2 separate regions of the Homo sapiens genome follow, and region 1 is linked to region 2. Evidence: promoter capture Hi-C in 16 types of primary human blood cells and fetal thymus (Javierre and others, 2016). All regions are on one chromosome and are shown on one strand. Each heading gives the region's core, a stretch centred on a gene start or on the middle of the fragment in contact. The rest is flanking DNA. Distances are from core to core; before and after follow the strand shown. Region 1 overlaps ZNF383 (zinc finger protein 383). Region 2 holds the start of ZFP82 (ZFP82 zinc finger protein).

Region 1 (4,347 bases), core at 1,540-4,039, 820 kb before region 2:
CTGATACTTAATCGTTGTGTGCTCACAAGCAATTATTTAATCTCTAAGCTACCATTTCTTCATCTGTAAAAGGGCAATAATCCTTAACTCATGATTACTGGGGGGTTACAGGAAAATGTATATACATGTTTTGGAGTAAAGTGTTCAGGTATTATGAAACAATTTCTTACTAAAAATGGGGATATTAGGCAAATTAAATGGTTTGAAGATATCAAAATGAAGCCTATTGGAGTATCTCAAAACAGGAACAGGGAATTCATTCCAACACAATCTTTCTCCTCCTATCTCTATATGCTCTTGCAATAACTTTTTTTTTTTTTTTGAAACGCAGTGTCACTCTGTTGCCAGGCTGGAGTGCAGTGGTGTGATCTCGGCTCACTGCAACCTACACCTCCAGGGTTCAAGCGATTCCCCTGCCTCAGTCTCCCAAGTAGCTGGGACTACAGGCGTGCACCACCACGCCCGGCTAATTTTTTTGTATTTTAGGAAAGATGGGGTTTCACCATGTTGGCCAGGATGGTCTCAATCTCCTGACCTCATGATCCTCCCGCCTCGGCCTCCCAAAGTGCTGGGATTACAGGCGTGAGCCACTGCGCCCGGCAGATCTTGCAGTAACTTTCATCTAGTTAAGCTCCCAAGTAAAGTTTTGAAACTGCCCTCTTCTGTCTTCCACTGCCAATGTCATCTTCCAAACCAGAATCAACTCTTACCCAGACCAGTGAAGTAGCCTCCTCAACCAGTCTCCCCACCAAGCTCTCTCACCCTTTAATCTATTCAGGGAATAGTATCATTTGGCTTAGGTTTCCACTGCTCAAAGTCCGAACTCCTTACAATCTCCTGCAAAGGCTGAATGCTGTGGCTCCTGCCTGTCTATCCAAACCCTGACTCACACTCCACTCCCACTTGATCATGGGGCCCACCAACACTGGCATTTAGTCCTTCAAACACACCAAGCTTTTCCCCATCAGAACCTTCACAGGGGTTCTTCTCTCTGCCTGGAGTTTTCTTCTCTAGTAAAACATTAAACAAGACCTAGTGGCAAGCCTAGTACTACATTAATTCTGAAGTAGTGATGAGCATAAATATTTCAATATGCCTACAATAACAGTAAAATAATATGAACGTATCTGTGATTTCCATTAATGTCAAAGTCACAGTAACTACTACTACTACTACTGCTACTATGGTTTGTCCCATACATCACGATAGGAAGAAATGTTATATCTCAATTAGAGGTTATTAAATATAAAGATGTATTTTTGGTCTGGGCACAGTGGTTCATGCCTGTAATCCCAGCACTTTGGGAGACCAAGGCAGGTGGATCATGAGGTCACAAGTTCAAGACCAGCCTGGCAAAGATGGTGAAACCCCATCTCTACTAAAAATACAAAAATGAGCCGGGCGCAGTGGCAGGCGCCTATAATCCCAGCTACTCAGAAGGCTGAGGCAGTAGAATCGCTTGAACCTGCGGGGTGGAGGCTACAGTGAGCTGAGATCACACCACTGCACTCAAGCCTGGGTGACAGAGTGAGACTCCGTCTCAAAAAAAACCAAAAAGATGTATTTTTTTCTTCTCATCCAAGTTCATGGACTCCCTGAATTCTACCTAAAGGAATCCAAAGTTAGGAACCCCTAGAGCAAGAATGATCCTTTGCAAACATGATAATATCACTCTGCTAAATCATTCAATGGATTTACACCTCATTCGGAGTAAAATTCAAGGTCCACAAGACCCAAAATCATCTACAGGTACATCCAACTCCCATCCTGACCTGCACCCAGCATGCAAACACTCATAAGCCTGCTACTTTCCTGATCTCCTCTTCTACAATTCCCGCTTTGCTCATTCAATTTCAGCCATAATGGTGGCTGCCAAAAAGCTCTGAACTCGAGTACTTGGCTCTTCCTGTTCCCTTTGCCTGAATCTCTCCTAGCAGATATTTACATTACCTGTTCCCTCACTTCCTTCAAGTCTTCACTAAAAGAACACCTCATCAGAGAGGCCCTCTCTAGCCTCTCTTCACAGCACTTATCTATCACCCACCACCTGACATTTCATATACACATGGACATATAATAATATAGAAATATTATTAATATATGATATATATTTATACTATACCAATATATTAGTTACATGTAGATAAATGTAAGTGATATATAATTCTAAAAATATTTATATATCATATAATATTAATGTCATGCTAATATTGTTTTATACATATATACTTGACATTCATGTTTATCTTCTGCTATGGTTTGAATGTCTCTCCTTCAAAATTCAGCTGTTGCCAATGTGATAGTATTAAGAGGTGGGGGCCAGACACAGTGGCTCAAGCCTTTAATCCTAGCACTTTGGGAGGCCAAGGTGGGTGGATCGCTTGAACCCAGGAGTTAGAGACCAGCCTGGGCAACATGGCGAAACCCTGTCTCTACAAAAAATAGAAAAATTAGCTGGGCGTGGTGACGTGTGCCTGTGGGCCGAGCTACTCGGGAGGCTGAGGTGGGAGGATCACCTGAGCCCGGGAGGTTGAGGCTGTGGTGAGCCATGATTGTGCCGCTGCACTCCAGCCTGGGTGACAGAGTGAGACCCTGTCTCAAAAAAAAAAAAAAAATTCCAAAAACGAAGAGGTGAGGCCTTTAAGAGATGATCGGGCTTCAAGGACCCATCCCTCAAGGATGGGTTTCGGTGCTCTTACGAAGGGGCTTGATGGAAGGAGTTGGCTCTCTTGCCCTACTGCCTTCTGCCACACGAAGATGCAAGAAGGCCCTCATCAGATGACAGTGCCTTGATCTTAGAATTCTTAGCCTCCAGATCTATGAGAAAATAAATGTCTGTTCTTTATAAATTACTCGATGTGAGGTATTCTGCTGTAACAGCACAAAATGGACTAAGACATTTTCTCTCTTACCCTCTAGAATGTAGGCTTCAGAAGTGCAGAACTTTAGAATGCCTTCATGAATACTACAGTCCCAGCCCTTGGACCAATGCTTGGTACATAGTAGTGCTCAATAAGTACTCTTCTGGTTCTCCTACTTCATCCCAAATCTCTCCTGCTCTGCCACCTCTTCCTTTTTAATATAGGCACAGATCCTTTTTTTTTCTTGGCCCCAACAATATCTCTATACATAGTGATTGCAGTCACTTCCAAGGCTCCACCTACTACTTCAATAGGGATTAATTCCACTTCTACATAGTTAGCCTTTGACTTTCTGCTAAACTCCTTATCTCATTTCTCTTTTATACTACTCTACTTTGTGGAAGTCATATATGTATATATTTTAGCACCACTTTTGGACCTTGAATTTGTAAAGGTAACACAATTAGTAAACTGTAGCACCTGGAAGATTCCCTTACACAAACCAGGAAATTAAAAAACGTTCCATAAAGGAAACATTGAAGACAGTCTGATAAAACAGGTCACTGACAGGCAGCTATAATGAAGACCAGTACTTGGGCAAGGGGTGTGTGTGTGTGTGTCTCTGTGTGTGTGTGTGTGTGTGTGTGTGTGTGTGTGTGTGTGTTCACATGTGTGTATACAGACGCAATTATATTATTTTGGGGAGTGGTAGTAGAAAACACCTGTACAAGTCTAAAAAATGCAGAAGAGGGGCCGGACGCGGTGGCTCATGCCTGTAATCCCAGCACTTTGGGAGGCTGAGGCGGGTAGATCATGAGGTCAGGAGTTCAAGAACAGCCTGGCCAATATGGTGAAACCCCACCTCTACTAAAAATACAAAAATTAGCTGGGCATGGTGGCATGCGCCTGTAGTCCCAGCTACTCAGGAGGCTGAGGCAGAAGAATCGCCTGAACCCGGGAGGCAGAGGTTGCAGTGAACCAAGATCGCACCCTGCACTCCAGCCTGAGCGACGGAGCGAGACTCCGTCTCAAAAAAAAAAAAAAATGCAGAAGAAGAAAAAGAATTAGCCAGGCATGGTGGCACAGGCCTACGGTCCCAGCCACTTGGAAGGCTGAGGCAGGGAGACTGCCTAAGCCCAGAAGTTTGAGCCTACAATAAGTTATGATCATGTCACTGCACTCTAGCCTGGGTGACAGAGCCAGACCCTTTAAAAAAAAAGAAAAAAAAAGAGAGAGAGTAAAAAAAGCTAGCAAGCAGCTGAATCTAAAATACGGGTAAAATAGGGTTTTTTTTAGAGAAGTAAAAGGTACCTTCTGCTTGAAATTAAGAGGAGGATTGGAGAGGAGTAGTAGAAATAGTGGTAAGTGAGGAAAAGGGCGAAACAGGTTATTTAACAACTATGCTAAAAGGACTTCATTTTCTCCACTGGCCTAGTTTCTTGATGGGAGCTTCAGGGATAACATCTCAAAGGTGCTGTTTCCTCCC
Region 2 (4,438 bases), core at 1,117-3,616:
ATTAAAATTTCCAAGTAAAGTAAAAACAAAAAAGTAGTGAAGACAGAAGAGTATTTAACCATATCGCTGTAGAAAATTGTATTGAATATTCTAAGGCATGTGCTTGTCCTTTTTGTGTCTGTTGGTAGAAAAAGAATAAACATTAAACTCAGCTTAGTATTTCCAAAGTAGTAAGAAACACTTTTGCACATAAGGATACTTTGGGAAACCTTGTTTCCCCCACTGTCTTTACACTGAGTGAGTAACAAGGCTCTGTAAAGACGCAGGGGAATTGGTCACTAGCAGGCAAGGCAGACATCAAGCACTGTAAGAAATCAGAGACTGACTTCAAAGAAAACTCAGCGTTTACTGATAAATTGTGTTATATTACCCCATCAATGGCTAGCCTTCATGCCATGAAAATGCATCCATGTTAATGATGTCACTGTCTTACCTAACTGCAGGTGACAGCTGCCATGACATAGAAATGACATTGAACTTAAGGAAAACACTATACTGTTGCAAAATCCTTGTTAAAACCAAACATCTTAAATGCATTTGAAGCAGCGTGTCTAAGCCACGTAAAATCAAACCCTTGATAGTTATTAGCTGGCCTTCTTCTATAAAGAAAGCTTTCTTTTTTCTTTGTGCTTATTTAATGGGGTACAATCAATTATAGACATAATTGGTGGCACAGGGAAAATAATTATTTCAAGTAGTTTTTAAACACTAGCTGTATAACTAAGAGGGACATATAAAAACAGGGATTGGCAAACTTTTTCTTTAAAGGGCCTGATAGTAAATACAGTCAATCTTCATTCACAGATTCTGAATTTGTGAATTCATCTACTTGCTAAAACTTTTTTATAAACCCAGAGTCAATATTTGCAGCACCTTTGTGGTCATTTGTGGACATCCGAAGAGCGGTGAACCTTTTTGAGTCCCTTAACAGGCATGTTCTCAGCCAAAGTCAAACAAAGTGACCCTCTATCTTCTTATTTCAGCTCTCATACTGTAAACAGGTACCCTTTTTGCAGTCCATTTAGTACCTTGGCTTCTCATATTTTTGTTTTTTGCTGGTGATTTTGCTGTTTCAAAGGGACCCCAAATGTAGTAGTACTAAAGTGCTGTTGATGTTCCTATGAATGAGAAAGCGGTCATGTGTCTTACAGAAAAAATACATGTGTTAGATAAGCTTCATTCAGGCATGAGTTATGGAGCTGTTGGCCATGAGTTCAATGTTAATGAATCAATAATATATATTAAAGTGTTTAAATAGAAACACAATAAGGCCAGGCGCGGTGGCTCATGCCTATAATCCCAGCACTTTTGGGAGGCCAAGGCGGGTGGATCACCTGAGGTCAGGAGTTTGAGACCAGCCTGGTCAACATGGTGAAACTCCGTTTCTACAAAATACAAAAATCAGCTGGGCATGGTGACATGCATCTGTATTCCCAGCTACTCTGGGGGCTGAGGCAGGAGAATTGCTGGAACCCGGGAGGCGGAGGAGGTTGCAGTGAGCCAAGATCCCACCACTGCACTCCAGCCTGGGTGACAGAGCAAGACCCTATCTCAAAAAAAAAAAAAAAAAAGAAAAAAAGAAAATAAACACAATAAAATAAGCTTATGCATTCATCGGTTGACTAAAATGTGACCAGATGCTTACAGGAAACTAACCCTGTATTTCCCCTAGAAGCAGTGGAATGGTATTCACTAATTCCGTGTTTGTAGCAAGTTTATAGACCATAACTACTGTGAATAGTGAGAACTGACTGTATTTTAGGCTGCGTGGGCCATCTGGTCTGTGTAACTACTCGAGTCTGTCCTTGTAGCTCAAATATAGCAATAGACAGTACACAATCAAACACGGCTATGTTCCAATAAAACTTTTATTTATGGACACTGAAATTTGACATGTATGATTTTCATATTTCACAAAATATTGTTCTCCTTTTCATTGTTTTTACCATTTAAAAATACAGAAATGGAAAATATAGGAACTGGCTTCCCCGAATCTCCGGAGTCACACGGTCTCAAATCCCAACAGCCACACCCAGTGAAAGAATCCCACCCAGGAGCGCGCCAGGGACAGACTCGCAGCGCCGTCCTCGCTCACAGGGCTCCCTAGTTGGCACTATAGAGAGGCGGTCGCGGGCGCCCCTCTTTAACGCGCCAGCCATCTGTCCCCGCTCCCCTCCAGGCCCTGCCGCGCCGTCCCCAGGCGCTAAGGGACTCGAAGCGCAGCCTCGCTGGGACGGACCTAGCTCCGGCTCCGGGTTCACGCAGAGCAGGGGCTGCACCAGCGAGCGGACCCTTGAGACTGGCCGCGCCTGCGCACTCCGTGAGCGCGCCCGGCCCTCCCAGCAGCCTCCGCGCGCAGCCCGTTAGGCCCCGGGGATTGTGGCGTGACCCGGCAGCGGCTTCCTCCGTTCGGGCATCGCTGTGCCTCGGGTTCGCGCCCCGAGTGAGCAGTCCTGGCCCGGAGCGTCGGTCCTGGTAATCTGTAGGAAAAGCGCTGCGGCCCAGGGGGTAAAGAGAGGTAAGCGGGGCCACTGCAGTATCGCAGAGGGGCGGGAGCCCGCGCCTCAGGCCCGGGTGTGTGTGTCGTGGGCGTGACGGGGCCGGGGCTGGGACGTGACGGAGTCTGTGCGGCTGACTTGGGTGCAGAGACTATTGTATGAGCGAAGGTTGTTGTGGCCGTGGAGTGCGTGACTGACCCCAGCATCCTCTGCCCACACCGGGCCCAGCTGCAGAGAAATGGCCCTCGGTCAGTTTCTGCACGCCAAAGACTCCCAGCAGAAACGCGCAGACTAGGCCGGACCAGGTGGCTCACATCTGTAATCCCAGAGCTCTGGGAGAGCGAGGCGGGAGGATCGCTGGAAGCCAGGAGTTCGAGACCAGCCTGGGCAGCAAAGCGAAACTCCCATCTGTACCAGAAATTTAAAAAATGAGCCGGGTGTGATGGCGTGCTCCTGTGGTCCCAGCCACTCGAGAGGCTGAGGCGGGAGGATGGCTTGAGCCTAGGAGGAGATTGAGGCTGCAGCGAGCTATGATAGCACCACTACTCTCCAGCCTGGGCAACAGCGAAACAAGGCTCAGACCCGACCTTGGGATAGGAATATTAGAACTGAACGAGCCCCCGCTCCCGCCCAGGCTTGCTCCTGGAAGGGACTCCCACACCACCTCCTCGCGGACCCGGACCCACGCACGTGCACTCACAACTCTGAAGAGTCCAGCTGCAGGTTTCAGAACCACAGCATTGCTTCCAGGAAGCTATTGTGAACTCCAGTTCTAGCCCCGGGCATCCATGACCCTGGCCTTTCTTTGATACTGGGAAGAGTTAACAACACCATCTCTCTTATGTTACTCTGGTTATGTGTGGGTGGGCGGTGGGGGCATTGTGCCCTATGCGAGGCTGGGCTGCAAGAAAAGCCTGGTTCCCTTATTAGCCAGTCCTGCCCAATTCTTTAAGAAAAGGGGTCCGAGCGGGAGGAGGAATGAATTGCTGTTGCCTGTTTAAGTCAAGGTCGAGGCGAGTGGGTGTTTCTGCTTTCTTCTGTGAAATGCATTCTTATTTCTTAGGACATGAGAATATTTGTTTCATTCTCCATAAATGTCCTGTCCATTGAGCTGATACCTAGGTCCCCTCCCGAGAGCCTGTATGCACATACCCATTTGGTAGATGTTTTTCATTACTTCTGTGGGCCTTCTTTTAATTACTATGTGTAAAGTTCTTAGAACAGTTCCTGAGACCTCGTTAGTACTTAATAAACCTTAGTTATGTATTCTTAAGTAGTGATTTGGAGCAATTCTACATCAGCCTTCTATAGATGGGGGGAAAATGAAAATACTAAGCCAATTGTGGTGAGTATTTCCTAGTAAAAAATAAATGAGCCAGATCAGATGCTTAAATAGTCTAAAACAGGAATTCTTTTTTTTTTTTTTTTTTTTTTTTTTTGAGACAGGGTCTTGCTCTGTCACCCAGGTTGGAGTGCAGTGGCACAATCTCAGCTCACTGCAACCTCCCTTTCCGTGGTTCAAGCGATTCTTATACCTCAGCCTCCCAAGTAGCTGGGATTACAGGCCTGCACCACCACACCCAGCTAATTTTTGTATTTTTAGTACAGACCGGGTTTTACCATGTTGGCCAGGCTGGTCTCAAACTCCTGGCCTCAAGTGATCTGCCTGCCTCGGCCTCCCAAAGTGCTGGAATGACAGGCATGAGCCACCGCCCCCAGCCTAGAACAGGAATTCTTTTTTTTTTTTTTTTTTTTGAGACGGAGTTTCGCTCTTATTTCCCAGGCTGGAGTGCAATGGTGTGATCCCAGCTCACCGCAACCTCCGCCTCCCAGGTTCAAGCGATTCTCCTGCCTCAGCCACCCTAGTAGCTGGGATTACAGGCATATACCACCACGCCTGCCTAATCTTGTATTTTTAGTAGAGACGGGGTTTCTCCATG

Evidence for each region. Contacts are between HindIII fragments. The CHiCAGO score rates a contact against its expected background, and 5 or more counts as called.
Region 1: a contact is called between a fragment that was not itself captured here and the fragment with the promoter of ZFP82 in region 2, in 8 of 17 cell types (total CD4 T cells, naive CD8 T cells, activated CD4 T cells and 5 more). The highest score is 8.0, in total CD4 T cells.

What each region holds. Positions count from the first base shown.
Region 1 is chr19:37,236,133-37,240,479 of GRCh38, reverse strand. All of the region lies in intron 5 of ZNF383 (zinc finger protein 383), which reads right to left. Among named protein-coding and RNA genes, the nearest start is that of LINC01535, 14 kb to the left of the region's middle. The HindIII fragment of the contact is 3,665 bases long and covers 957-4,347 here.
Region 2 is chr19:36,416,572-36,421,009 of GRCh38, reverse strand. ZFP82 (ZFP82 zinc finger protein) reads left to right here and starts at 2,366. Exons shown (of 5, transcript NM_133466.4): 1 at 2,366-2,518. RefSeq lists an enhancer at 2,838-2,997. The HindIII fragment of the contact is 3,270 bases long and covers 1,605-4,438 here.